7 separate regions of the Homo sapiens genome follow, and regions 2, 3, 4, 5, 6 and 7 are each linked to region 1. The links are contacts of gene promoters, found by promoter capture Hi-C in blood cells and fetal thymus (Javierre and others, 2016). All regions are on one chromosome and are shown on one strand. Each heading gives the region's core, a stretch centred on a gene start or on the middle of the fragment in contact. The rest is flanking DNA. Distances are from core to core; before and after follow the strand shown. Region 1 holds the start of SLC25A3 (solute carrier family 25 member 3). Region 2 overlaps FGD6 (FYVE, RhoGEF and PH domain containing 6). Region 3 overlaps VEZT (vezatin, adherens junctions transmembrane protein). Region 4 overlaps VEZT (vezatin, adherens junctions transmembrane protein). Region 5 overlaps DRAM1 (DNA damage regulated autophagy modulator 1). Region 6 has its middle 6.3 kb from the start of GNPTAB. Region 7 has its middle 4.1 kb from the start of METAP2.

What was found. Contacts are between HindIII fragments. The CHiCAGO score rates a contact against its expected background, and 5 or more counts as called.
Region 2: a fragment that was not itself captured here is called in contact with the fragment with the promoter of SLC25A3 in region 1 in 2 of 17 cell types (monocytes and non-activated CD4 T cells); the score reaches 8.2 in monocytes.
Region 3: a fragment that was not itself captured here is called in contact with the fragment with the promoter of SLC25A3 in region 1 in 10 of 17 cell types (total CD4 T cells, activated CD4 T cells, total CD8 T cells and 7 more); the score reaches 23.9 in total CD4 T cells.
Region 4: a contact is called between a fragment that was not itself captured here and the fragment with the promoter of SLC25A3 in region 1, in 1 of 17 cell types (non-activated CD4 T cells). The highest score is 6.2, in non-activated CD4 T cells.
Region 5: a contact is called between a fragment that was not itself captured here and the fragment with the promoter of SLC25A3 in region 1, in 1 of 17 cell types (M1 macrophages). The highest score is 7.6, in M1 macrophages.
Region 6: a fragment that was not itself captured here is called in contact with the fragment with the promoter of SLC25A3 in region 1 in 1 of 17 cell types (non-activated CD4 T cells); the score reaches 8.6 in non-activated CD4 T cells.
Region 7: a fragment that was not itself captured here is called in contact with the fragment with the promoter of SLC25A3 in region 1 in 2 of 17 cell types (activated CD4 T cells and total CD8 T cells); the score reaches 6.1 in activated CD4 T cells.

The regions. Positions count from the first base shown.
Region 1 is chr12:98,591,517-98,595,118 of GRCh38, reverse strand. SLC25A3 (solute carrier family 25 member 3) reads right to left here and starts at 1,433. Exons shown (of 8, transcript NM_002635.4): 1 at 1,379-1,433; 2 at 984-1,144. The coding sequence starts at 1,140. RefSeq lists enhancers at 394-1,018, 1,342-1,441, 1,019-1,643, 1,692-1,911. The HindIII fragment of the contact is 3,126 bases long and covers 1-2,133 here.
Region 2 is chr12:95,204,606-95,208,207 of GRCh38, reverse strand. The region is part of intron 2 of FGD6 (FYVE, RhoGEF and PH domain containing 6); the gene reads left to right. Among named protein-coding and RNA genes, the nearest start is that of FGD6, 11 kb to the left of the region's middle. The HindIII fragment of the contact is 2,503 bases long and covers 356-2,858 here.
Region 3 is chr12:95,221,104-95,224,705 of GRCh38, reverse strand. The region is part of intron 1 of VEZT (vezatin, adherens junctions transmembrane protein); the gene reads right to left. Among named protein-coding and RNA genes, the nearest start is that of VEZT, 5.1 kb to the right of the region's middle. The HindIII fragment of the contact is 875 bases long and covers 1,566-2,440 here.
Region 4 is chr12:95,253,307-95,256,908 of GRCh38, reverse strand. The region is part of intron 2 of VEZT (vezatin, adherens junctions transmembrane protein); the gene reads right to left. Among named protein-coding and RNA genes, the nearest start is that of VEZT, 37 kb to the right of the region's middle. The HindIII fragment of the contact is 3,115 bases long and covers 255-3,369 here.
Region 5 is chr12:101,881,827-101,885,428 of GRCh38, reverse strand. All of the region lies in intron 1 of DRAM1 (DNA damage regulated autophagy modulator 1), which reads right to left. Among named protein-coding and RNA genes, the nearest start is that of DRAM1, 6.0 kb to the right of the region's middle. The HindIII fragment of the contact is 3,451 bases long and covers 1-3,426 here.
Region 6 is chr12:101,835,473-101,839,074 of GRCh38, reverse strand. It overlaps the pseudogene RNA5SP369. Among named protein-coding and RNA genes, the nearest start is that of GNPTAB, 6.3 kb to the right of the region's middle. The HindIII fragment of the contact is 4,973 bases long and covers 1-3,602 here.
Region 7 is chr12:95,468,293-95,471,894 of GRCh38, reverse strand. No RefSeq gene overlaps it. Among named protein-coding and RNA genes, the nearest start is that of METAP2, 4.1 kb to the left of the region's middle. The HindIII fragment of the contact is 5,545 bases long and covers 1-3,602 here.

The DNA.
Region 1 (3,602 bases), core at 184-2,683:
CAAACGAAACTCAGAAAGATCACTCGACATGTAAAAGGCTTGCAAACAACTTCAAAGTTTATCCCAGCCACTAACCAATACTATCCCCACTTAAGAACTCCTGTAACATAAAAACGGATACGCACAAATTCCTGCAGTCAAATACATTTAATACACAAATAATGTTAGCTTTAACTTTTAAACTGAACGACAGATAGTGTAAATAAGGACTCTATCCATACTAAAGACAACAGAAGCACATGAATGATTTAAAGAAAAAAATCTTTCGATTTTACAGGCACAAGGTAGATAACATTCTTAGGACTCCTACAATTCGGTTTTCAGGTTTCTCTGTATGTACATACTTCACTAGGATTTAAAACACACACAACTAAGTTAAAGCTGGGCCCAACCACCAAGAATCCCAAGAGATAATCACACCAAAGGGACGCCCACCAATTATCTCCTTTCTATTGCCTATGTAGGGCTGCAAGCTGCCTCCTCCAGTCGCACGAAAACAGGACATCTAGTTATCTCATATACAATTAAGTGCAAAAATGACTGACCTGGCGTCGACAAATATAAAACTTAGGAAAGGACTATTTTTAAGAAAACTAAGGGCAAATCAAAGGACAGGTAATATAGTTAGTAGAACTGTGGGTGGTCAGTAGTTTCGGGAGGAGAGTTTACCCAGTACTTAGTTTGCTGACCAAGCGAGCTCACGGCGGAGAAAGAGCTAGTCACGGCCTCTCTTCCCTCGGGCACACGGAGGTCACGAAGGGACACAGGGCCTCAGCGCTTCCACGCCCTTGAGGGAAGGCCAAGGATCTGACACCCGCCTATGGTGGAAAAGGCCGATACCCCAGGGCAAGCAACTGGGCGCCGTCCTACGGTGCAGCGGGCTGGACTCGTCCTTCCCTGTCCTCCAAGCCGGGTCCAGGCCTCAAAGGCTGGGCGGCCCACAAGTAGACCACACGACTGTATTGGGCAGGGTCTGATCTCACCTTCCACGGCGGCGGCTGCCAGGTTGCGAGGGCGGCGGGGCTGGCCCGTGGGCCCTGGGGAGCTGCTGCGGAGGTCCCCGAGACCATCGTGCACCAGCTGCAGATGTGGCGTGTTGAAGGGGTTCGCCCGCGCCAGGTGCGCCACGGACGAGAACATCTTTCTAGGGGAGGAGGGAGCGACGGTTAGAGGACAGGCAAGGCGCCGGTTAACGTTACCGGCGCCCTGGAACCCCAACCGGGGCCTTTTCCTTCCCGTCTCCACGCCCTTGAAGAGGTCACGGCGGCCTTCGAAAGAGGCTGCTCCCGGCTGGGCCCACCGCCAAAGCAGCGGCCCCACAGGAGCTCTGGGCTCCGCTCCCCACACCCGCCACAGGAGAAGGCCCGGCCACACTCACTCCCTAAGATGGCGATCACACAACCACTCCCTTGGAAAGGTTGCGGCTCACAGAGGCCGGACGTCCTCCGGGTCCTAAGATGTGTGCCCTTCGCGCGTCGTCGGCGTGACGCACACAGCGCGCCACTGCAAGTACGCGTCGCCCATTGGTGGAGAAGAGCGCCGAGCCCGTAGCGTCATCGCGTTCTCCTAGCAACCTTATTCCCGCCCCTGCCCGCCCCAGCTCTTCCGCCCGGCTTGTGCGCGGGAGGATTCGTTCTGCGCAGGCGCGCGTTCCGGGTCTATATTTTTTGAGAGGGGTCGGGCTCGAGCTCTTACCCTGCTCGCTTTGTCCCTTCACCTTCAGGTGTCTCTCCTTGACCACGGGCTTCAGTTCGCTTCACTTAAGTGAATCACAGTATCTAGTAGTCACTTAAAAAACAAAACAAAACGCGAATGCTTGATAATATATTTAGGTGTTGGAGTTACAACATCACTGCAGTACTTTGTGTCACAACTTCTGCCATTACAGTACTTTTTAAAATAAGTTCCATCCATTGACATTAAACATAGGTATGTCTGTATTTTTCATCAGACTCCTGGAGAATATTTTAAAAAGAAATGTGCAGCAAGAAGTCTTACGACAGCTTGCCGCGTTATCACAGTAATCTACAGAACACGTTGAAACATTGAACTCCTGAGATGTTACAGCGATGAACTACTGAAAGTGACTGATAGCAGATTGTGCGTGTGTGTGGTTAATACATTTAGGAAGCTTTCATTAGATTCAGCTCAACAGGGAGGGGCGTAGTTTAGTTGGGGAGAGTTTAATAGGGATTCAACCTGTTAGACTTCTGACTCTTATATTTTCCAAGCTCTTGACAAAGTAACCTTGGGAATTTACTTCATCTCTGTGTACCTGTTCCCTAGATGTAAGATAGGGGTGGGACTGGCCTCATAGGTTCACACTGGTACAGTCACACATGGCCTTACACTTCATTTAATGCTCTGCTGTCATTTTGATTTTTTTTTTTTTTCTTTTGAGATGGAGTCTTGCTCTGTCGCCCAGGCTGGAGTGCAGTGGGGCGATCTCAGCTCACCGCAACCTCCGCCTCCCGGGTTCAAGCGATTCTCCTGTCTCAGCCCCCGGAGTAGCTGGGACTACAGGCGTGCACAACCACGCCCGGCTAAGTTTTCTATTTTTAGTAGAGACAGAGTTTCGTCACGTTGGCCAGTCTGGTCTCGAACTCCTGAGCTCAGGTGATCCGCCCACCTCGGCCTCCCAATGTGCTGGGATTACAGGCCTGAGCCACCATGCCCGGCTTGAAATTCTTAATACATGTATGAACAAGGGGCCACGCTTTTTTTAGTTTGCACTGGACCCTGCAAATCAGGTGTCTGGTTCTGGATGGGAGTAATACTTACCTTGCAGAGTCTATGAGAACTCAATGAGATAATGTCTAAAAGTCTACAGAAGATGTTACCTAAAAAAAGTTAGCATTGGCCGGGCGAGGTGGCTCACGCCTGTAATCCCAGCACTTTGGGAGGCCGAGGCGGGCAGATCACGGGGTCAGGAGATCGAGACCATCCTGGCTAACACGGTGAAACCCCGTCTCTACTAAAAATACAAAAAATTAGCCGGGCGAGGTGGCGGGCGCCTGTAGTCCCAGCTACTGAGGAGACTGAGGCAGGAGAATGGCGTGAACCCAGGAGGCAGAGCTTGCAGTGAGCCGAGATCATGCCACTGCACTCCAGCCTGGGCGACAGAGCAAGACTCCGTCTCAAAAAAAAAAAAAAACAAAAAAACAAAAGTTAGCATTGAGGCTGCGGCATCACGGCACTCTCTAAGCAACCCTATCCCAGACCCAGCCCTTCTGGCCCAACTAAAGTCCTACAGTCCCAGGAAGAATTCCAGAGTGGAGGGCACAGGAAGGGAAGTAGTGACAGATAAAGTTAAAAAAGTACACTAGCACCTGATTGTCCAGGGCCTCACATACCAGACTGAGGAGTCTGATCTTATGTAGACAGAGGTAGTCACTGAAGGGTCTGGACTTTCTCTCTCTCTTTTTTGGTTAATTCAACTTTATGGTGCTTTTCTAATTTAAAAATCCTTTGTCATGAAAAAGTCAAATATTATGTAAAAATATATGACTGTAGTGAATCTTCCTATTCCCTTCCCCCAGCACCGGGTAATACCGTGACCCTTTGCTGCACATTTTTTCAGCTGGAACAGCTGGTACCCTTCA
Region 2 (3,602 bases), core at 358-2,857, 3.4 Mb after region 1:
TGATCATGGCTTACTGCAGCCTCGACTCCCCAGGCTCAAGGAGTCCTCCCATCTCAGCCTCCTTGAGTAGCTGGGACTATAGGTGCATGCCACCATGCCTAGATAATTTTTGTATTTTTTGTAGAGACAGGGTTTTGCCATCATGCCCAGGCTGGTCTTGAACTCCTGGGCTCAAGCACTGCTCCTGCCTTTGCCTCCCAAAGGGTTGGGATTACAGGCATGAGTCACTACACTGGGCCTATTTCTCACTTTTGTGTGTGCACTTCCTACCTGTGGAATACCTACTCCATCTCTCTTATTAAAATCGTGCCCATCCTCAATAATCCACCCCCTCAGTCTTTGGCTTCATTAAGCTTCTACAATTACCTAGTCAGAAGTGTTTACTTCCTATTCTGACCACCCAGTTATGCTGTGATATCCTTTCATCTCAGGCTGTCTTAATGTATAACTATTTATTGGCATGTCTGATGTTCTGTATTTGGTTTTAAGCTCCATGAAGAGTTCTAGTCATCTCTTTGCCCTGGATAAAGCCAAGCAAGAGGCCTAGTAGAATCAGTAGATGTTGATTGGGTCTAAGAGAGAATGAATGAAAATAGGCCAAGAGAGCAACCACTGCAGCGGCTTCCTTCTCTCCATAGTCGCATAGGTAGCTTTTCCATTGTATTTCTAATGTTTGTTTGTGTTTAACAAAAAAGCACATGGACCCTTTTGGAAATCTTTAGATTGTTCTTAGTCCACTAACTTCAGGTCTTTGAAATTCAAGTCTTGAAATGTGACTTTTCTAGAAAATACTTGGCACATAGTGGGGTGTATTAGTCCGTTCTCACGCTACTAATAAAAACATACTCAAGACTGGGTAATTTATAAAGGAAAGATGTTTAATTGACTCACAGTTCAGCATGGCTGGGGAGGCCTCAGGAAACTTACAATCATGGCGGAAGAGGAAGCAAACACATCCTTCTTTACATGGGGGCAGCAAGGAGAAGTGCAGACCGAAAGATTGAAAAGCCCATTATAGAACCATCAGATCTTGTGAGAACCCACTCACTATCTCTAGAACAGCAGCTTGGGGGAAAACCGCCCCCGTGATTAAATTACCTCCCACCGGGTCCCTCCCACGACATGTAGGGATTATGGGGACTACAATTCAAGGTGAAATTTGGGTGGGGGCACAGCCAAAGCATATCTTGGGGGCTCCAAAAAAAAAAAAAAGCATTGTTGGGTGAATTGAATAAATAAAATTGTCGAGCAAGTCAGCGTACCAAGTAAAGTAAATTATTTTAAGTTCCTTTAACTGTCAGGTATTCTCATAGCATTTCTCTTTACTCGTAGTCAGTCTTTCCTGCCCTTCCTCCTTTTGCCTAAAAATGGCTACTTTCCTCCCTTGTCTAATTTTTCTCACAGCCAGCTGCATTCTGTTTTCATATTTCTGCTTCCTGAATATTAGTACCTAGGCAAAAAGCTCCTTCCTTGGCATAAGTACTTCTTTTTCTTTTTTTTTTTTTTTTTCTTTGGAGACAGGGTCCCCTCTCTGTCTCCCAGGGTGGAGTACAGTTGTATAGTCAAGGCTTACCGCAGCCTGTAACTCCTGGGCTCAAGTGATCCCCACCCACCTTCAGCCTCCCAAGTAGCTGGGACCACAGGGGCATACCACCACACCCAGCTGATTTTTATTTTTTATTTTTTGTAGAGATAGGGTCTCCCTGTATTGCCTAGGCTGGTCTCAAATTCCTGTGCTCAAGTGATCCTCCCATCTCAGCCTCCCAAAGTGCTGGGATTACAGGCATGAGCCACCACTACCGGTTCTTGGCATAAATATTTCAAATTGTCTGTTTTCAGGATTGCTCTTCTCTGCAGAACCATTTTATTGGTACTATCCTTTTTTTTTTTAAACATGCTTTTGCATATTTTTTTGTGTGTAATAAGTTTGGTTGGCTTCTTCACAATGTACTACTATCCTTGCCTAAGATAAATTTTTTTTTTAATCACTTTATTTGTGAATGAGTACAATTTTTTCTTGAAATTGGAGGTTTGGCCATTGGGGTGTGTTTTCTGTTGGCCATCAGGCTTAAACCCTAAGGGCTTACCATTATCTCTGCCAATCCTGGAGCTTGTTTTTTATCTGTTATGCTGCTTAGTTTGTTAGGGCCTGCTACTCGACTGGGTGGAAGCTGGTGAGAAGGGGTTAATGGACGCAGCCAGCCAGTGGCATAAGGAGAGTTCTTTCTGGAGGCCACAGGAAACCAGGGCGGCTTTGGACAGGTTATAGGCTGTCAAGTAGGGCAGCCTGGTAAAAGCTGGGTGAGCTTTGCTTTTGAATTTCGCTTTCCAAGGAGACTTTTGTTTAGGCCTGCAGCAGGGAGCCTGCAACAGGCTTGAGACTACTAAAATGTGCCAGAGGAATCAAAAGCCCTGAGTCATAGGGTCAGAATCACAGTATTGCCTGGGAGGTTGTTCCTCTTGTAAACAACATTGAATAGAGGAGAAAAGAAATTCAAGTCTTCCTGAGGAGGACACCTTGACACCCTGAGATCAAATAAATGAACAGTGAGGCATACATTTCAGGTGAGCTCAAAGGGTCCTGTTTGGTAATCTCGCTGTTGAAAATACAGACCTGTGCCTTAGAATACTTAATTCAAAATCCAGTACACTGACTGGGGTTCTAAAATGATAAGAAAAAGTGAAAATGAACTCTGTTTAAGATTTTTCTGCTGGGGTCATCACAAGGGTGTCTTAGTTTCTCAACCTTCAGGGAAGAAAGTCTGGGTCAGGGCTCTAATTCACTGAATCATGTATTTTACAGAGTCTACACATGTGACCAACCAAATTCTGGTTAGTAAACAGACTTTTGACAAGCTTGGGTGTAGCCCATATGGTCTTATTCTTTAGAATATAGATGTTTCATAAATCCATTGCTTACCATTTACTTTTTTTTTTTTTGAGACAGAGTCATGCTGTGTTGCCCAGGCTGGAGTACAGTGGCACCATCACTGCTCACTGTAGCCTTGACCTCCTGGGGTTAAGTGATCCTCCCATCTCAGCCTCCCAGGTAGCTGGTACCACAGGCATGTGCCACCACACCCATCTAATTTTTGTATTTTTTGTAGAGATGGGGTTTCACCTTGTTGCCCAGGCTAGTCTCGAACTCCTGGTCTCAAGACATCCTCCTGCCTTAGCCTCCCAAAGTGCTGGAATTATAGGCGTCAGCCACCATGCCTAGCCTACATTTACAAATTTATAACAACATGTTTACAATTTATCAGAAAGTAGTTGTAGGCAGTCCCCAATTCCTAAAAGGATTGTGTTCTAAAAGTTCATGGTAATTTGGAACTCAGAGTGTATTTCCCAAAGAAACAGCTTTGAAATGGTGGTGAAGTCCTCAGTTTAGTCCGCAGGTTATATTAACCATTACTGCCCTGTCTTCCCCTCCACTCCTCTCCCTACCCCAGCCCAAGGGAGGTGAATTATCTCTGACTGTGTATGTGTGTGTGTGTGTGCGCGTGCATGCACGTGTGTCCCTGTGATGCAAGCTGGGGCTGAGGCGGTAGCCAGGGTGGGGTTAAGCACCTGGGATCTCAGAGGAGCAAATCTACAAGGCCTGG
Region 3 (3,602 bases), core at 754-3,253, 3.4 Mb after region 1:
TGGCTGAGTAATCAAGTGGTAGATGGCAAGAAAACATGCCTTACAAGCTTTCAGCTCTTCAAAAGAAGGCCTTTCTCAGTCAGTGGCCTGAGATCTAAGTTGAATGAAAGTGGTAATAGGGGTAGAGGGGGTTACAGGTCTCATAGGTGGTAAAGCCCAAACACAGGAAATAAGATGGCTGCTCCTAGCCTTTCCCAAGAAGAATCCCGTGATAAGAGTTACAGGTTAGCTGGACATGGTGGCACCTGCCTGTAGTCCCAGCTACTTGAGAGGCTGAAGTGGTAGGATCACCTGAGCCAGGAGTTGGAGGCTGCAGTGAGTTATGATGGTTAACACTGCATTCCAGCCTAGGCAACAGTGCAAGACCCTGTCAAAAAAAAAAAAAAAGTTGTGGCTTTAGGTACAGGAATGCAATCACTAACAAATAGTAGCCGTAGAGGGAAAGAATTCAGACAAGAAACACCCAAACCTCTCTGGCGCTCTTTCCTCCATCCTCTGATCTGCAGGTCCTTCCCACTGGCCGAACCTAAATGGAACCCAGAGGACAAGGGAATGCAGTGATGCAGTCCATAATGATCAGGGTGGAATTATGGGTCTGAGGGACACAGGGAGAAAAATAATCACCAATGATAACATCAATCCCTCAACTATATACTTGGGTATTAAATAAGAAATAAAAATGGAACTTATACAACCATGAGACAAACTACATTTCAAAACTTTCGTGATACAACTGAAGCAATACTCAGGGAAATTTATAGCCTTACAAGTTATTTTGGGCATTTAGGTTTTTAACTCAAGAAGCTAAAAAAAACAGAACAAAAATAGCAAAATAAACACAAATAGATGAATGGAAATAGATAAAAGTAGAAATTTTAAAAAAATTTAAAACCACAAACAAATTCAATAGAACTGACCAAACAAAACCAACTAGTTTTTTGAAAAGTCTACCTGAGGCCAGGCACGGTGGCTCACATCTGTAATCCCAGCACTTTGGTAGGCCGAGGTGGGTGGATCACCCGAGGTCAGGAGTTCAAGACCAGCCTGGCCAACATGGTGAAACCCCATCTCTACTAGAAATACAAAAATTAGCTGGGCATGGTGATGGGTGCCTGTAATCCCAGCTACTCGGGAGGCTGAGGCAGGAGAATTGCTTGAACCCAGGAGGCAGAGGTTGCAGCAAGCCAAGATCCTGCCATTGCACTCCAGCCTGGGCGACAAGGCTAACAGAGTGGAACTCTGTCTCAAAAAAAAGAAAAGTCTATCTGGTAAGTTGAAACTCCAGCACATCTATGCAAAACAAAAAGAAAAACATAACAACAATCAGATCTAATTTGTGCTATAAATGAAACTAAAGAGACTACTAAGAATATATCAATAATTTTGAAAACCTAGATAAAAAGCAATTTGTTGGAAAAATTTAATAAAAGGTAACATTTACTGAGTGTTTACAATGTGTCAGGTACTCATCTAAGTAATTCACTTATATTAAATCATTTAGTACTCATAACTACCTTACGAGATAGTTACTGTTATTTTTATTTAATATGGAGAAAACTGAAGCTTAGACAAGTTAAGTAACCTGCTCAAAGTCACATTAACTAATATAACTAATAAATAGCTGACCTAGGATTTCTTAGGTTATCCAGCTCCAGAGCCCATATCTTTAACTATATTACACTGCCTTTCAGAATAAAAAAGTTATCAAAATAGAAAATTGTACCTGAGCAATAACCATAAAAGAAATTGAGCTGATAGACAACATTCAGTCTCTTTTCCCCAGGAAAGGCCAATTTAGCTATACTCTGAAGAAACAGATAATTCTCATTTTGTAAAATCAGTCCTAGAGCACAGAACGAGATGAGAAGTTGCTTGATTCATTTAGAAGGCAAGCAATAAATGTTCACGGATTGGAAGATTCAATATTGATTGTAAAGATGTTAAGTTTCCCCAGATTAATTTATAGCTTCAAAGCAATTTCAATCAAAGTCTCAGTAGGGTTTTTTTATTTTTATTTTTTATTTTTTTACAAAAACTGACAGGCTGATTCTAAAATTTATATGGAAATATAATGGGCCAAGAATAGCCAAAGGCAATCCTGAAGAAAAATACAGCTGAAGGGTCTTATGCTATCAGATATTAAAACCTATTTTTTAAATTATAGTAATTAAAATAATGTGGTATTAACACACGAATAGACAAAATGATCAATGGCAAAGAAGACAGTGTCCAGAAAGAGATCTACACATAAAAGATTCCCTGATTTATGACAAAGGCAACACTACAGTTCAGTGGGGAAAAAATGATCTGTTCAGTAAATGGTGCCAGGTCAACTGGACATCCATACGGGGAAAAAAAAATGTTGATCTTCACTTGTTACCATACAAAAATCAGTACCAGATGGATGACAGATCTAAATGGGAAAATGTCAAATAAAGCTTTTAAAGAAAATATCTTTGTGACCTTAGAGTAGGCAAATATTTTTTTAACAGCACTAATCACAAAAGAATAAGGTTTAATTGGATTATAATAAGGAGCTTCTGTTCATTGAAAGACACGATTAAAAGAGTGCAGAGGCCACATATAGCCCAAGGTAAGATATATGAGGTATATACAGTTGTCTCTTTATTCATGGGGAATTGGTCACAGGACTAGGGCAAATACCCAGTCCATGGATGCTCAAGTCCCTTATATAAAATGGCATAGTATTTGCATATAACATACACACAGTCTCCCACATATTTTAAATCATCTCTAGATTATTTGTAATACCTAATACAATGTGAACACTATGTAAATAGTTGTTATCCTGTATAGTTTTTTTATTTGTATTATTTTTTGAATATTTTTGAGTATTTATTTATTTATTTAGAGATATGGTCTCACTCTGTCACCCAGGCTGGAATTGTAGCTCACTGCAGCCTCAAATTCCTGGGCTCAAGCAATCTTCTGCCTCAGGCTGTGGAGTAGCTGGCATTACAGACATGCATCACCACACCTGGTTAATTTTTTTCTTTTTTTTTTTTAATATGCAGGGTTTTGTTAATGTTGACCAGGCTGGTCTTAAACTCCTGGCTTCAAGCAATATTCCTACCTTAGCCTCCCAAAGTGCTGGGATTACAGGCATGAGCCACCTCACTGGGCCAGAGTATTTCCTTTATTTTTTTTTTTTGAGATGGAATCTTACTCTGTCACCCAGAGCAACCTCCGCCTCCTGGGTTCAAGCGATTCTCATGCCTCAGCCTCTGGAGTAGCTGGGACTACAGGTGCATGCCACCATGCCCAGCTAGTTTTTGTATTTTTTAGTAGAGACTGGGTTTCGCCATGTTGGCCAGGCTGGTCTCAAACTCCTAGCCTCAAGTGATCTGCCTGGCTTAGCTTTCCAAAGTGCTAGGATTATAGGCGTGAGCCACGGTTGGTCCAATCTGCAGATGTGGAACTCTCAGCTAAGGAGGGCCAACTGCATCTCTAACAAAGGACTTGTATCCAGTGTATGTAAATAATTCCTTCAAATCAGCAAGAAAAAGAAACAACCCAATAGAAAAATATGCAAGAAATTTGACGTGGCTTCACAAAATGGATATACAATTGGCTAATAAACA
Region 4 (3,602 bases), core at 563-3,062, 3.3 Mb after region 1:
TTCTGATTCAATACATTTGGAATGAGGCCTGAAAATCCGATTTTTAAAGAGCAGGCAGAAGTCATTCTGAAGCAGCCCATTTATCCTGGGGAGACTATGTACTATGTCAACATGATGATAGTATTTATTTCAGAAAGAAAAATCATAGGGTGGTTACAAGTTCTCAAATATTAAGACCATTTCATTCCACAATACTAAGTCAAAAAGATACTTTGACCATTTTAGAAAAACTGTCATATATTGATAAAAAAGCTTTACTACTGAATCAACCAAAAATTCAATTTACCTTAATAGCCCATTCCTTGAGCATGCCAGTAAGTGCAGTTTATATTCATTGAGTGATTACTATATCCCAGGTACTGCAAAGGGTCATGGGAAAAAAGATAAATACATGTAACTATTGTTTTCAAGAACTTAGTATAGAAGAAGAGACAATATAAAGAATTACAATCAATGTAAAGTCTGAAAAAGTATTGGAAAAGAGGAGGTCAGAGAGGAGCTAACACTGGAGTTCAGTCCTAACGGATGAGTAGGAATTTAACAAAGAAGGGAAGAACGAGTTGGGCACGGTGGCTCATGCCTGTAACCCCAGCACTTTGGGAGGCCGAGGAGGGCGGAGCACCTGAGGTCAGGGGTTTGAGACCAGCCTGACCAACATGGAGAAACCCCGTCTCTACGAAAAATACAAAATTAGCCAGGCATAGTGGTGCATGCCTGTAATCCCAGCTACTCGGGAGGCTGAGGCAGGCGAATCACTTGAACCCGGGAGGCAGAGGTTGTGGTGAGCCGAGATCGCGCCATTGCACTCCAGCCTGGGTGACAAGAGCGAAACTGCATCTCAAAAAAAAAAGAGAAGATCACTTCAGTCAAGGGAAGAGGATGAAGGAAAGAGCCATTAAAGCACATGTCATGGGGATGGTGGCGCACTCCAGGACAGTTATGACCCAAGAGAAGAAGGGATTAGTAAGGAAGTTAAAAAGGTACACTGAGATAGGTTTTAAAGGATCTTAGACTTACACACCATAATAGTATGAACATTATCCTGTAGGGTGTGAGGAGCTACCAAAGATTTTTATGCAAGGAAGCGAAACAATAAAGAAAAATAATTGGCAATAGTGCAGGGGCTAAACTGGCAGGGTATGATTGTAGACAAGAAGCATGATTAAAAGGATATTCAAGGCCGGGGGCGGTGGCTCCCGCCTGTAATCCCAGCACTTTGGGAGGCCGAGGTGGGTGGATCACAAGGTCAGGAGTTCGAGATCAGCCTGGCCAACATAGTGAAACCCCGTCTCTACTAAAAATACAAAAAATTAGCCGGGCGTGGTGGTGGGCACCTATAATCCCAGCTACTCAGGAGGCTGAGGCAGGAGAATCGCTTGCACCCGGGAGGTGGAGGTTGCAGCGAGCTGAGATCGCACCACTGCACTCAAGGCTGGGCGACAGCGCGAGACTCCATCTCAAAAAAGAGAAAAGAAAATTAATCACTCAGCTAAATAACAATAAAGGCCTTTAAGTTAGGTAATGAGTACAAAAAAGATCATGAATAAGAGTTAGATTTAAGAGACACAGAAGCTGACTTGATGTATCACTTGATGACCAAGGCTATGTCAGCGCGATTGGAAATGGTATGGTAACTGAGAGGGTGGTGATTTGGGACTATTAAAAAGAACACTTTTTGTTTGTTTGTTTTGGGGGTGTCTGAGGGGGTAGTGATTTGGGACTATTAAAAGGAACATTTTTTGTTTGTTTGTTTTGGGGGTGTCTGAGGAAGTCCTATTTTAGACAAGTTGAATCTGAGCTTTGTGGGGCACATGTAGAAGAAAATGTCTAACAAGCACCTGGAACTCAGCAAAGCCTGGAGAATGGACATAAGTGGCAAGAAAGTAGATGAGATCCCCAGAGAAGATATCAAGCCAACGAGAAGCCTGCTGCTAAAACTCTATGGAATGAATTTAAGAATAATCACAGGAAAAGAAACCAGAAAAAGAGACAGAATGAATATTCATAGTAAGAATATCAGGGCAGACTACTTAACAACTACTAACAAGCATATGCAAAAATAAAGTTAAAAAAGAGAGAGCAATTAATGCTAAGGATGGTTTCATTAAGAACTCATAGAAAAACAGCTTTTCAGAGGAAATAATTGATACTTCATTCCTTGAACAGAATTTTGGGAGCAATTCTAAACATACATTCCCTGACAATGAGCTAAACAATACAACAAGTTTTCTAAAATTTAGCTCTCCCCAAATTAGGAAAAAAATTGGTCGGGCATGGTGGCTCATGCCTGTAATCTCAGCAGTTTAGGCCAAGGTAGGCGGATCACTTGAGGTCAGGAGTTTAAGACCAGCCTGGCCAACAAGGTAAAACCCCATCTCTACTAAAAATACAAAACTTGGCTGGGCGTGGTGGCCTGTGCCTGTAATCCCAGCTACTTGGGAAGCTGAGGCAGGAGAATTGCTTGAACCTGGGAGATGGAGGTTGCAGTGAACCAATATTGCGTCACTGCCCTCCAACCTGGGCGACAGAGTGAGACTCCGTCTCAAAAAAAAAAAAAAAAAAAAAAAAAGAACTTCGTTTTAGAAAAATATAGATCCTACAGTTAAAAACTTGTCTTAGAAATGTGCAATATGGCTGGGTGTGGTGGCTCACATCTGTAAGGCCAAGGTAGGAGGACTGCTTGAAGTCAGGAGTTTGAGACCAACCTGGGCAACATAGTGAGTGGTAATTTTTAAATCTTTACAAAAAATAAAGAAGAAAATTAGCTGGGCATGGTGGCACATGTCCGTGGTCCCAGGTACTTGGGAGGCAGAGGTGGGAGGATCACTTGGGCCCAGGAAGTGAATGCTGCAGTGAATTGTAATCACACCACTGCATTCCAGCCTGGGTGACAGGGGAAGACCCTATCTCAAATAAATAAATAAATAAATAAAATGAAGACAAAACAAACTTTCTAGACATATGATAATTTTTTTGAGATGGGGTCTTGCTATGTTGCCCCAGCTGGTCTCCAACACTTGGGCTCAAGTGGTCCTTCTGCCTCAGCCTCCCAAAGTGCCGGGATTATAGACATGAGCCATTGTGCCCAGCCTGGTAATTTTTTAAAACAACCTCTGGCTATGCTTTTTATTGTTCCTCAGTTTCTGAGGGGATTCAATTTTAAACTCTCACTTGACTTATTTATAAACTAGCAACAACATTTCTATATATAAAAATACTTGTCATAAATGACAATAATACCTATAAAACCCAAGTTTGTATCAAAACAAAACAAAACAAAAAATTAGAGGTCAATGACCATCTGCTGCTCTAAGACTATCCCCTGGCCATTCTTTGTTTTGTGTTGCCAAGTAACCTCAAATCCAAGCTTATTAAATAGCCTATTATATACAAACCACTTCCCAGGAACATTCACTCTTAAAAGGGGCACAGGGAAGAAATGGTATAAATGGAGGACTAGGAAAACTGGTTCTGATCCATGTGAGCTCTAACTCTCCTAACTCTCACCTTCTGGGTGTTAGTCAAAAAATTCTCTAGTGTTTACTAGACTATTACAAATGGGCCAGCTTGGTTACCTCACATTTTAGGTGTCTTTGTAAGAA
Region 5 (3,602 bases), core at 452-2,951, 3.3 Mb before region 1:
GTTAAACCATTCACAGACAACCTGCTTCTGGGGCAGGGTTTCGTAGTAGCAGAGCAGCTCCCTCCCTCGATTTGAGCTACTGAAAGTCAGCGCTTGACACAAGGGTTTATCAAAAACAAACAAAAAGAGAAGAAGGAAACTTTCTTTAAAGTTAAATGTGAAATGAAAGACTTACTATAATATAATCATAAAATTGTATTGGAAAAAGAATGCAAGGCTGGGTGTGGTGGCTCACGCCTGTTATCCCAGCACTTTGGGAGGCCAAGGCGGGAGTTCAAGACCAGCCTGACCAACATAGAGAAACCCCGTGTCTACTAAAAATACAAAATTAGCCGGGCGTGGTGGCACATGCCTCTAATCACAGCTACTCGGGAGGATGAGGTGGGAGAATCGCTTGAACCAGGTGGCAGGAGGTTGCAGTGGGCCAAGATTGCGCCATTGCACTCCAGCCTGGGCAACAAAAGTGAAACTCCATCTCAAAAAAAAAAAAAAAAACATTTTCTCTATAAAGATCAGCATCTGAAGATTTAACACACACTTGTCATAACCCAAAATTTGTGATTGTTACATAAATGCAAGTTAAAATCGTTATTTTCCTAATTTTTAGTATCATTTTTGAAGTTAAAGACCTGACCAAACTTCTTTTACTTCATTTACTCTGCAATTTTGTTCCTCCTTTTAAAGTGGCTTGATTCTAGGTGACCCAGTTTTCTGTCATCAACTACTGAGCAGAGATTATGGGGTCATGAGGTAGGACAATATGGGTGGCCAAAGGCCACAATCTATCCCACAAAACTGTATTCACATGGAAAGTGAGACGTGCTAATAAAGAGAAAAGCCAGGATCTAGAATCGGCAACACTGAAGAGTAAAGGATCACAGAATATCATGAGCAAGATATCATGGCAGGAGACACATGCCAAAAAGAAGATGGAAGACAGTGATCTATCAGCTGGAAAAAGTTAATAATTTGATAAGAAACTATAACAAGTTAAGCATGATTTGGCTTGAGAATGTGGGTGTGGCCGTGTGCAAATCTTTTTTTTTTTTTTTTTTTTTTGAGACAGGGTATCACTCTGTCACCCAAGCTGGAGTGATCACTGCAGCCTCAGACTGCAGGCTCAAGTGATCCTCCCACTCAGGCTCCTGAGTAAGTGGGACTGTAGGTGCATCCTACCACGCTCAGCTAATTTTTTGTATGTATTGTAGAGACAGGGTTGCACCATATTGCCCATGGCTGGTCTCAAACACCCGGACTCAAGTGATCAGCCCACTTCAGCCTCCCAAAGTGCTGGGATTACAGGCATAAGGCACCACACCCGAGTGCAAATCTAAACTAATTTTTTGAGATTAGCTTTTATTTGTCCTTCCTTTTGATATGCTTTTGTTAATGGTTTCAGAATAAGAAATATCACTTTATGCTATTCTAACTTGTTATATCTCACGGTGGTTGGTCCCATGTTTTTATTTTGTATTTATTTATTTTTTTTTTTTTTGAGAAAGAGTCTCGCTCTATCACCAGGCTGGAGTGCAGTGGCACAATCTCGGTCCACTGCAACCTCCACCTCCGGGTTCAAGCGATTCTTCTGCCTCAGCCTCCTGAGTAGCTGGGACTACAGGCACATGCCACCATGCCCAGCTAATTTTTGTATTTTTAGTAGAGATAGGGTTTCACAATGTTGGCCAGAATGGTTGCGATCTCTTGACCTCGTGATCCGCCTGCTTTGGCCTCCCAAAGTGCTGGGATTACAGGCGTGAGTGAGCCACTGCGCCCGGCCTCATGTTTTTAATTTAATTTTCTGATAGGAAACATTCATGCGGGGCGCAGTGGCTCACGCCTGTAATCCCAGCACTTTGGGAGGCCGAGGTGGGCGGATCATGAAGTCAGGAGATCGAGACCACCCTGGCTAACATGGTGAAACCCCGTCTCTACTAAAAATACAAAAAAATTAGCCAGGTGTGGTGGCACGTGCCTGTAATCCCAGCTATCAGGAGGCTGAGGCAGGAGAATCGCTTGAACCCGGGAGGCGGAGGTTGTGGTGAGCCGAGATCGTGCCATTGTACTCCAGCCTGGGCAACAAGAGTGAAACTCCATCTCAAAAAAAAAAAAAAAAACCTATTTGGGTAAAAAATAAAACAAAAAAGTATGCCTTATAATTATCCTTTTTCCCCATCTGCCAATGTCTCACTGACCTTGACCTACTCCTCCCTCCATCACACACAGATAAACCACTTTCATTAGTTTCTTTATGCAAGCTAATGCAAATATATATTATTTTTCTCCTCTTTTTTCTTAACTAACGAGAGCATAGGTTGTTCTGCATCTTGCTTTTTCCCATGTAACAATGTATCTTGGAGATTTTTCCATATAAGTGTATTGACGTAAAAATCTGCTAGGTACAGAGAGCTTTCACTTGAAGTATCCTTTAATAAATAAACCATATTTATTTAGGCAATTCTCTACTGATAGTCATTTGTAGTTTCCAATCTTTTGTTATTCAAAGCAATGCCCTGAGTAACTCTGCAGAAATGCCATTCTTCACATGGGCATGTACACCTATAGGATAAATTTCAAAAAAAAAAAAAAAAAAAAAGGCTGTTGCATCAAATGATGGGGGGGTGTGTGTGTATCTGTCATTTCCATAGATATTGCCCAAGTCCCACCATGGAGACTGAAATCAATTCACGTTCCTGTAAGCAATGTATGAGAGAGACTGTTTCCCCATATTCTCACCAGTACTAGTATCAAACATTTGGGTTTCTGCTAACCCACTAGATCACAACTGGCATCAGTGAGTTTTAATTTGAATATTTATTCCTATTCATAAAGTTGAGTATCTTTTCATGTGTATAAGAGCCATTTGCCAATTTATCCAATATGCTGAAGAATAACAATGTTACAAGGAGAAAGTATCTGATAAGGAAGCTGATTCTAAATGCCATACTGGGGAGAGGTCCTCCTTATGGTTGTGGCTCTTATTTAAAGTGTTCAACTGTGCTAAAAACATTAGACCATCAGGGGCCGGGCGCGGTGGCTCACGCCTGTAATCCCAGCACTTTGGGAGGCTGAGGCGGGCGGATCACAAGGTCAGGAGATCGAGACCATCCTGACTAACATGGTGAAACCCCGTCTCTACTAAAAAAATACAAAAAATTAGCCGGGAGGGGTGGCGGGCGCCTGTAGTCCCAGCTACTCGGGAGGCTGAGGCAGGAAAATGGCGTGAACCCGGGAGGCGGAGCTTGCAGTGAGCCGAGATCGCGCCACTGCACTCCAGCCTGGGAAACTCCGTCTCAAAAAAAAAAAAAAAAAAAAAAAAAAAAATTAGACCATCAGAATGACTGAACAATGTTAGAATGTAAAAGGAAACTCATCCTAAGGACTTTCAAATCACTGACTAGCCACCAAACAGAATGGCCATGTCAAGCTTTTCCTTAAGGGATCTGCCCTGTCCTGGGGTAAAGAGTGAGTACCCAAGAAATAGTCATTCAGAAATATTCATTCAGCAAATATTGAGAGCTTTCATGGACCTTACAATCCAGTGAAGGGAGACAGAAAATAAACATAATAAATAAGTTAAATCACATGATTTGTTAGAAGGTGAT
Region 6 (3,602 bases), core at 354-2,853, 3.2 Mb before region 1:
ACCCACTGCAGTGCCCCAACTCCCAATTGTGCACCTGCATTCTGTGCCAATATTGATGGGATGCAATAAAATTAGTAATTAGAGGGACATTTATGCTTTGGAAAACATTTATTAAAAAACCATAAAATTGAAAAAATTGAGCTAAATATTAAATTTGAAAAATGAGTTCAAGAGCAACAGAGCAACAGAGCAAACAGAATAAGGGGGGAAAATTACCAAGACAGAGACACAAATCAATGAATAGAAAACCACAGAACATTAGAGAGAATGACCCAAACAGGAAGCTGGGTTTTTTTTTTGTCTGTTTGGTGTGTTTTTTTTTTTTTTTTGTCTTTTTTTTTTTTTTTTTTGGAGACGGAGTCTCACTCTGTTGCCCAGGCTGGAATGCAGTGGTGCAATCTCAGCTCACTGCAACCTCTGCCTCCCAGGTTCAGGTGATTCTTCCGCCTCAGCCTCCTGAGTAGCTGGGACTACAGGCGCACACCACCATGCCCAGCACATTTTTTGTATTTTTAGTAGAGACAGGGCATCTCGATATATTTCCCAGGCTGGTCTTGAACTCATGACCTCAAGCAATCCTCCTGCCTTGGTGTCCCAAGGTTCTGGGACTACTGGGCCAGCCTTCTTTTCCAGATTCCATTGTGAGCCACCGTGCCTGGCAGAAGCTGGTTTTTGAAAAGATTATTTAGGCTGGGCACAATGGCTCATGCCTGTAATCCCAGCACTCTGGGAGGCCGAGATGGGTGGATTGCCTGAGCTCAGGAGTTCAAGACCAGCCTGGACAACATGGCGAAAACCCATCTCTACAAAAAATACAAAAATTAGCCAGGCATATTGGTGCACACCTGTAATCCCAGCTACTCCAGGGGCTGCAGTGGGAGGATCGCTTGAGCCCAGGAGGTCGAGGCTGCAGTAAGCCAAGATGGTATCACTGCACTCCAGCCAGGGTGACAGAGAGACCCTGTCTCTAAAAAAAGAAAAGGTTATTTAGGCAAAGGGAGAAAAGATACAAAGAAGTAGTAGACAAAATGAAGCAAACAAACAACCAGAGTCAATAATGATAGAAATAACAGAGGTTTTAAAACCAAGTTGACATTAGTATATTCCACTATATAAAAATGATCCCAAGCTAGAAAGTTTTCCAAATGAGCTCTACCTCAAAACATAGGGTTATTCTCTATATCCTTTAATAACACACTGTAATTCAATTCATCAAAACTTTATACAACTCTGTGATTGGAACTTTTTTTTTTTTGAAACAGAGTCCCTCTCTGTCGCCCAGGCTGGAGTGCAGTGGCGCAATCTCGGCTCGCTGCAATCTCTGCCTCCCAGGCTCAAGCAATTCTCCTGCTTCAGTCTCCCACATAGCTGAGATTACAAGCATACACCATCACACCTGGCTAATTTTTGTATTTTTAGTAGAAATGTGGTTTCGCCATGTTGGCCAGGCTGGTTTCGAACTCCTGGGCTCAAGTGATCCACCCTCCTTGGCCTACCAAAGTGCAGGCATTACAGGTGTGAGCCACCTCAGCCAATGGTTGGTACTTTTATCAGTGCAAAATATATTAATTCATGTAATAAATTTTTATCAATTAGTTTCTATTGGCAAGACACAATGCTAAGATTAGGGATACATTTCTGGATAAGATGGGTAAGTCTCTTGCCTTTATGTTGCTTATATTCCAGTGGATGAAATGTACAAAAAAACCCACAAGTAAATATCACATAAACAGAATAAAGTATGGTTGGGCCTGGTGCGGTGGCTTATGCCTGTAATCCTAGGATTTTGGGAGGCCAAGGTGGGCGGATCATCTGAGGTCGAGAGTTTGAGACCAGCCTGGCTAACATGGTAAAACCCCATTTCTACTAAAAATACTAAATTAACTGGGCGTGGTGGCACATTCCTGTAATCTCAGCTACTTGGGAGGCTGAGGCAGGAGAATTGCTTGAACGTGGGAGGTAGAGGTTGCAGTGAGCCAAGATTGTGCCATTGCACTCCAGCCTGGGTAACAGGGCGAGGCTTCATCTCAAAAAAAAAAAAAAAAAAAAAAAAAGGACAAAGTATGGTTACATTTATGTGAAAATTAGGTATTTTATATATATGTGATGTGTTTGAACTCACAAAAAAGTTAACAGTGAGCCATGTTATGTTTTGGCTCTTGAAATTCTTCCATCCAAGTACTAACCAGGCCCAAACCTGCTTAGCTTTAAGGAGATCAGATGAAATTGGGCGCCTTCAGGGTGGTATGGCCATAGATTTGGCTCTTGAAATTCTGTCAGAGGCTGGCTGCGGTGGCTCATGCCTGTAATCCCAGCACTTTGGGAGGCCGAGGCAGGCGGATTACCTGAAGCCAGAAGTTTGAGACCAGCCTGGCCAACATGGTGAAACCCCATTTCTACTAAAAATACAAAAATTAGCCAGGCATGGTGGCAGGTGCTTGTAATCCCAGACACTTGGGAAGCTGAGGCAGGAGAGTCACTTGAACCAAGGAGGCGGAGGTTGCAATGAGCAGAGACCATGCCAAAGCACTCCTGCCTGGGCATCAGAGTGAGACTCCATCTCAAAAAAAAAAAGAAAAAAAAAAAAAAGAAAAGGAAATTCTATCAGAAACAGTTAAATTACTTAATAATTTTGTTTGCACTAGTTTGCAAAAATTAAAAGCCATCCTCACTTTCTTTTTAAAATGTATTTAATTTTATTCCAGATTGAAGGGATACACATGCATGTTTGTTAAATGGGTATACTGAATACTAGTAAAGATTGAGCTTCTAGTGTACCCATTACCCAAATAGTGAACACTGTACCTGACAGGTAATTTTTCAAATCTCATCACCCCCCAACTGTCACCTTTTTTGGAGTCCCTGGTTTTAATTATTAATATTGCCATTTTTATGCCCATGTGTACCCGTTGTTTAGCTCCCACTTATAAATGAGAACATGCAGCATTTGATTTTCTGTTTCTGAGTTAGTTCACTTAGGATAATAGCACCCAGCTCCATTCATGTTGCTGCAAAGGACATAATTTCATTCTTTTTTATGGCTGTCTGGCTTTCTTAGACTAAAGAAAGGAATAGGATGACTTACAACTTACATGTCTATGAATATACACTAAGGGAGGGAATAAAATCAAAATGTGTTTCCTGGGAACAAGCAAGATTTTCAAGCCTAGAGCTTAAAAGGAAAGCATTTACAACATGAACATTTTATCTTCTTATCATTAATAAAGGAAGGACTTAATTAAATATACACTTAACAGGAGGTATTTTAACTTTAATCAGCTACTGAAAGCTCTTTAATTTTCTTATGACCTCACAGTGAGGCTTTTGAAGCACACTATTTCTATACACAAAATATGTGTAGGCCTGGGACAAGAGGTCCCTGATTGAGCAAGATTGTTTTCTTTGGATGTTCAGTTTTCACCCTGGCTAAGCAAAGGGAGACTCAAAGATGGTAAATGTTTTAGGGTCCAATACATAAAAACATTCTCATTGTCTCCTGAGTTTTGAACCAATTGAGAAGATCATGCAAGATACAGGCAGATGAGGATCAGCTTTAATATTAATGAAATTAACTGCAGAATGTTGTTTTACATCTATGGACA
Region 7 (3,602 bases), core at 323-2,822, 3.1 Mb after region 1:
CCTCCCAAAGTGTTGGGATTACAGGCATGAGCCATTGCGCCTGGCAGAGTATTCTTGGCAAAGGGAAGGTAAAGAAAAATTTAAGAGGTATTTAAGAGGAGACATGGATTCTAATACTAGAATGGTCATTTGGCTATAATTTTGTGACTCTGGACAGCCCATATATTTTTGAGCCTTGATTTTCTCATCTGTAAAACAGTAGGGAGTATAACACATTTAAAGAACTAAAAAACATCCAGAATGGCTGGAATGCAAAGAGGTGGAGAAGGGAGTGAGTGTGATGAGATGAGACTAGAAAGGTAAGAGCCTTGCAGGAAGGAAAGGGTAGGAGAGCTGACAGAGCCTTTTAGATCATACTAAGGGCTTTATACTTTGTCCTAAGAACAATATAAAACTCTTAAGTATTTTATTTTACTTTTTTTATTTATTTTTCAGACAGGGTCTCATTCTGTTGCTCAGGCTGGAATGCAGTGGCGTGATGTCAGCTCACTGCAACCTCTACCTCCTGGGTTCAAGCAATTATCCCACCTCAGTCTCCCAAGTAGCTGGGACTACAGGCACATGCCACCACACCCAGCTAATTTTTGTATATTTTGGTAGAGACAGGGTTTCACCATGTTGGTCAGGCTGGTCTCAAACTCCTGACTTCAGGTGATCCACCTACCTCCCTTAAGTATTTTATTTTTATTTTTTATTTTTTTCTGAGATGGAGTCTTGCTCTGTCGCCCAGGCTGGAGTGCAGTGGTATGATCTCGGCTCACTGCAACCTCCGCCTCCCGGATTCAAGCAATTCTTCCACCTCAGCCTCCCGAGTAGCTGGGACTACAGGTACGCGCCACCACACCCAGTTAATTTTTGTATTTTTAGTAGAGACGGGGTTTCACCATGTTGGCCAGGCTGGTCTCAAACTCCTGGCCTCAGGTGATCCGCCCTCCTCAGCCTCCCAAAGTGCTGGGATTATAGGCATGAGCCACTGTGTCCAGCCCCCTTAAGTATTTTAATGGTGAGGAGACAGTTAACCTGATGAGAGTTGCAATTAACATGATTAGATTTTTGAAAAGATCACCATGGCTGCAGTGTACAGAGTAGAGTTGAGGGTGGCCAGAATGAAAGCAGGGAGATCAGTTTAGAGGCTATTACAGTCAATAGGTTATAGTGGCTTGAAAGGGAATGATGATGGGTATGACCAAAAAAATGAATAGATTTAAGAGATATGTGGGAGATAAAATGGGCAAGACTTGGTGATGAATTGTATAAGGGATTTGAGAGAGAAGAAGATATCAAGGAATCCCCTTCGGTGTGTGCTGGTGAAACTGGATTGACTGGTAATGTAATGTAAATAACAGAGATAGAAAAACATTTCAGATTTGAAAGGGAAGATTATGAGTTAGATGTGAGACATGCTGAGTCTGAGGTGTCTTGGGGCATTAAAGTGGAGCTGTGAAGAAGGTGGATAACTATAAGGAACTGGAGATCAAAAGAATAGTTGGAGCAGATATAAAAATTTGAGTCATCAACTAATAGATGGGAATTGGAACTTTGACACAGATAAGATCATCCAGCAAGTGGATCTAGACATGAGAGTCTACCTGTACTGCACAGCATGGTGGCCACCTACCACGTTGCCACTGAGCACTTAAAATGCTGCTAGTTCAGGCCGGGCGCGGTGGCTCACGCCTGTAATCCCAGCACTTTGGGAGGCCGAGGCAGGCGGATCATGAGGTCAGGAGATCGAGACCATCCCGGCTAACAAGGTGAAACCCTGTCTCTACTAAAAATACAAAAAATTAGCCAGGCGTGGTGGTGTGCACCTGTAGTCCCAGCTACTCGGGAGGCTGAGGCAGGAGAATGGCGTGAACCCAGGAGATGGAGCTTGCAGTGAGCGGAAATGGTGCCACTGCACTCCAGCCTGGGCGACAGAGCAACACTCCATCTCAAAAAAAAAAAAAAAAATGCTGCTAGTCCAAATTGAGTTATGCCATAATTTAGAATACACACTGAATTACAAAAACTTAATACAAAAATACTAAAGTTTCTCAATAATGTTATATTTATTGTTGAAATGATAATTTTTATATAGAGTTAAATAAAAACATCATTAAGATTGATTGTTACCTGTTTCTTTTTACTTTTTAAAATGTGGCTACTAGAAAATTTAAAATTACGTGAGTGACTATTGGAAATGTAAATTGTCAACCTTAAAAAAAAGACACTAGAGGCTAGGCATGGTTTCTCACACCTGTAATCCCAGCACTCCAGGAAGATCACTTGAAGCCAGGAGTCAGAGACCAGCCTGGGTTACCAAGCAAGACCCCCTCTCTACAAGGAATTAAAAAATTATCTGGGCGTGGTGGCATGTGCCTGTAGTCCCAGCTACTCGGAGGCTAAGGTGGGAGGATTGCTTGACCCAGGGGAAGTCAAGGCTGCCATGAATTATGATCACACTGTCACAGAAGGGCTGGGCTCCCAGCTAAACCCCACCCTTAAGCCTGGAACCATGGCCCTAAGTGAAAACAGCTGACCCCATTTTTCTGCCCAAATGTTGCTTTTTTGGCCTGCCCCACCCCATCCTGTGCCCATGAAAGACTTAAGCTGGCAAAGCAACATAAGCGGCTGAGCGTCGGGAACACGAGCGGCTGAGTGGCAAGCAAAGAAACAACTAAGTGTTAGAGAGTAGATGCAGCTAATTTTGGACGTGCAGCTTCCGAGAGGGGCCTAGCCAGAGATGGGTGGGCTTCAGGTAAAGATCACCTTCCCACCCCCTTTCCAGCCTCTCTTTCCGCTGAGAGCCACCCACTGCTCAATAAAGTTGTCTGCATTCATTACCTTTCAACCCGTTCATGTGACCTGATTCTTCCTGGATGCCAGACAAGAACCAGGAAGCCCCTGAGAGTATAGGGGCTGCCACCCTGACCCTCCACTGAGCTGGTTGGCACTTGGCCATCCCTGGAAGGCAGAGCGGACAGAGCATTGGCTGTAATATGCTTGGATGCTGCTGCAGGGCCCACATAGAGCCTGCTCCCACCAGAAAGGAGCAACTGGCTGGTTCCAGAATTCGTTCACTCCAGTTCCCACACTCGCTCTCTCGCACACTCCCTCCCGTGAGGAGTGGCCAGCAGTGGGCTTAGTGAAACCAGTCACTCCACTTCCCACCCACCAAGGGGGTCAAGGGAACTATCCCATCTCATCACCACTGCACTCCAGTCTCGATGACAGAGTGAGACCTTGTCTCAAAAAAAAGAAAAAACGGCCAGGTGTGGTGGCTCACACCTGTAATCCTAGCAATTTAGGAGGCCGAGGCAGGTGGACCATTTGAGATCAGGAGTTCGAGATCAGCCTGGCCAACATGGTGAAACCCTGTCTCTACTAAAAATACAAAAATTAGCCGGGTGTGGTGGCATGTGCTTGTAGCTCCAGCTACTCGGGAGGCTGAGGCAGGAGAATCACTTGAACCCGCAAGGCAGATTGCAGAGGGCCGAGATTGCACCACTGCACTCCAGCCTGGGTGGCAGAGTGAGACTGTGTCTCAAAAAAAAAGCAAGAGAAAATTATCTCTAACATGTTGGGTTTACTTGGGAATAGAAATAAGGATTATAATCCAG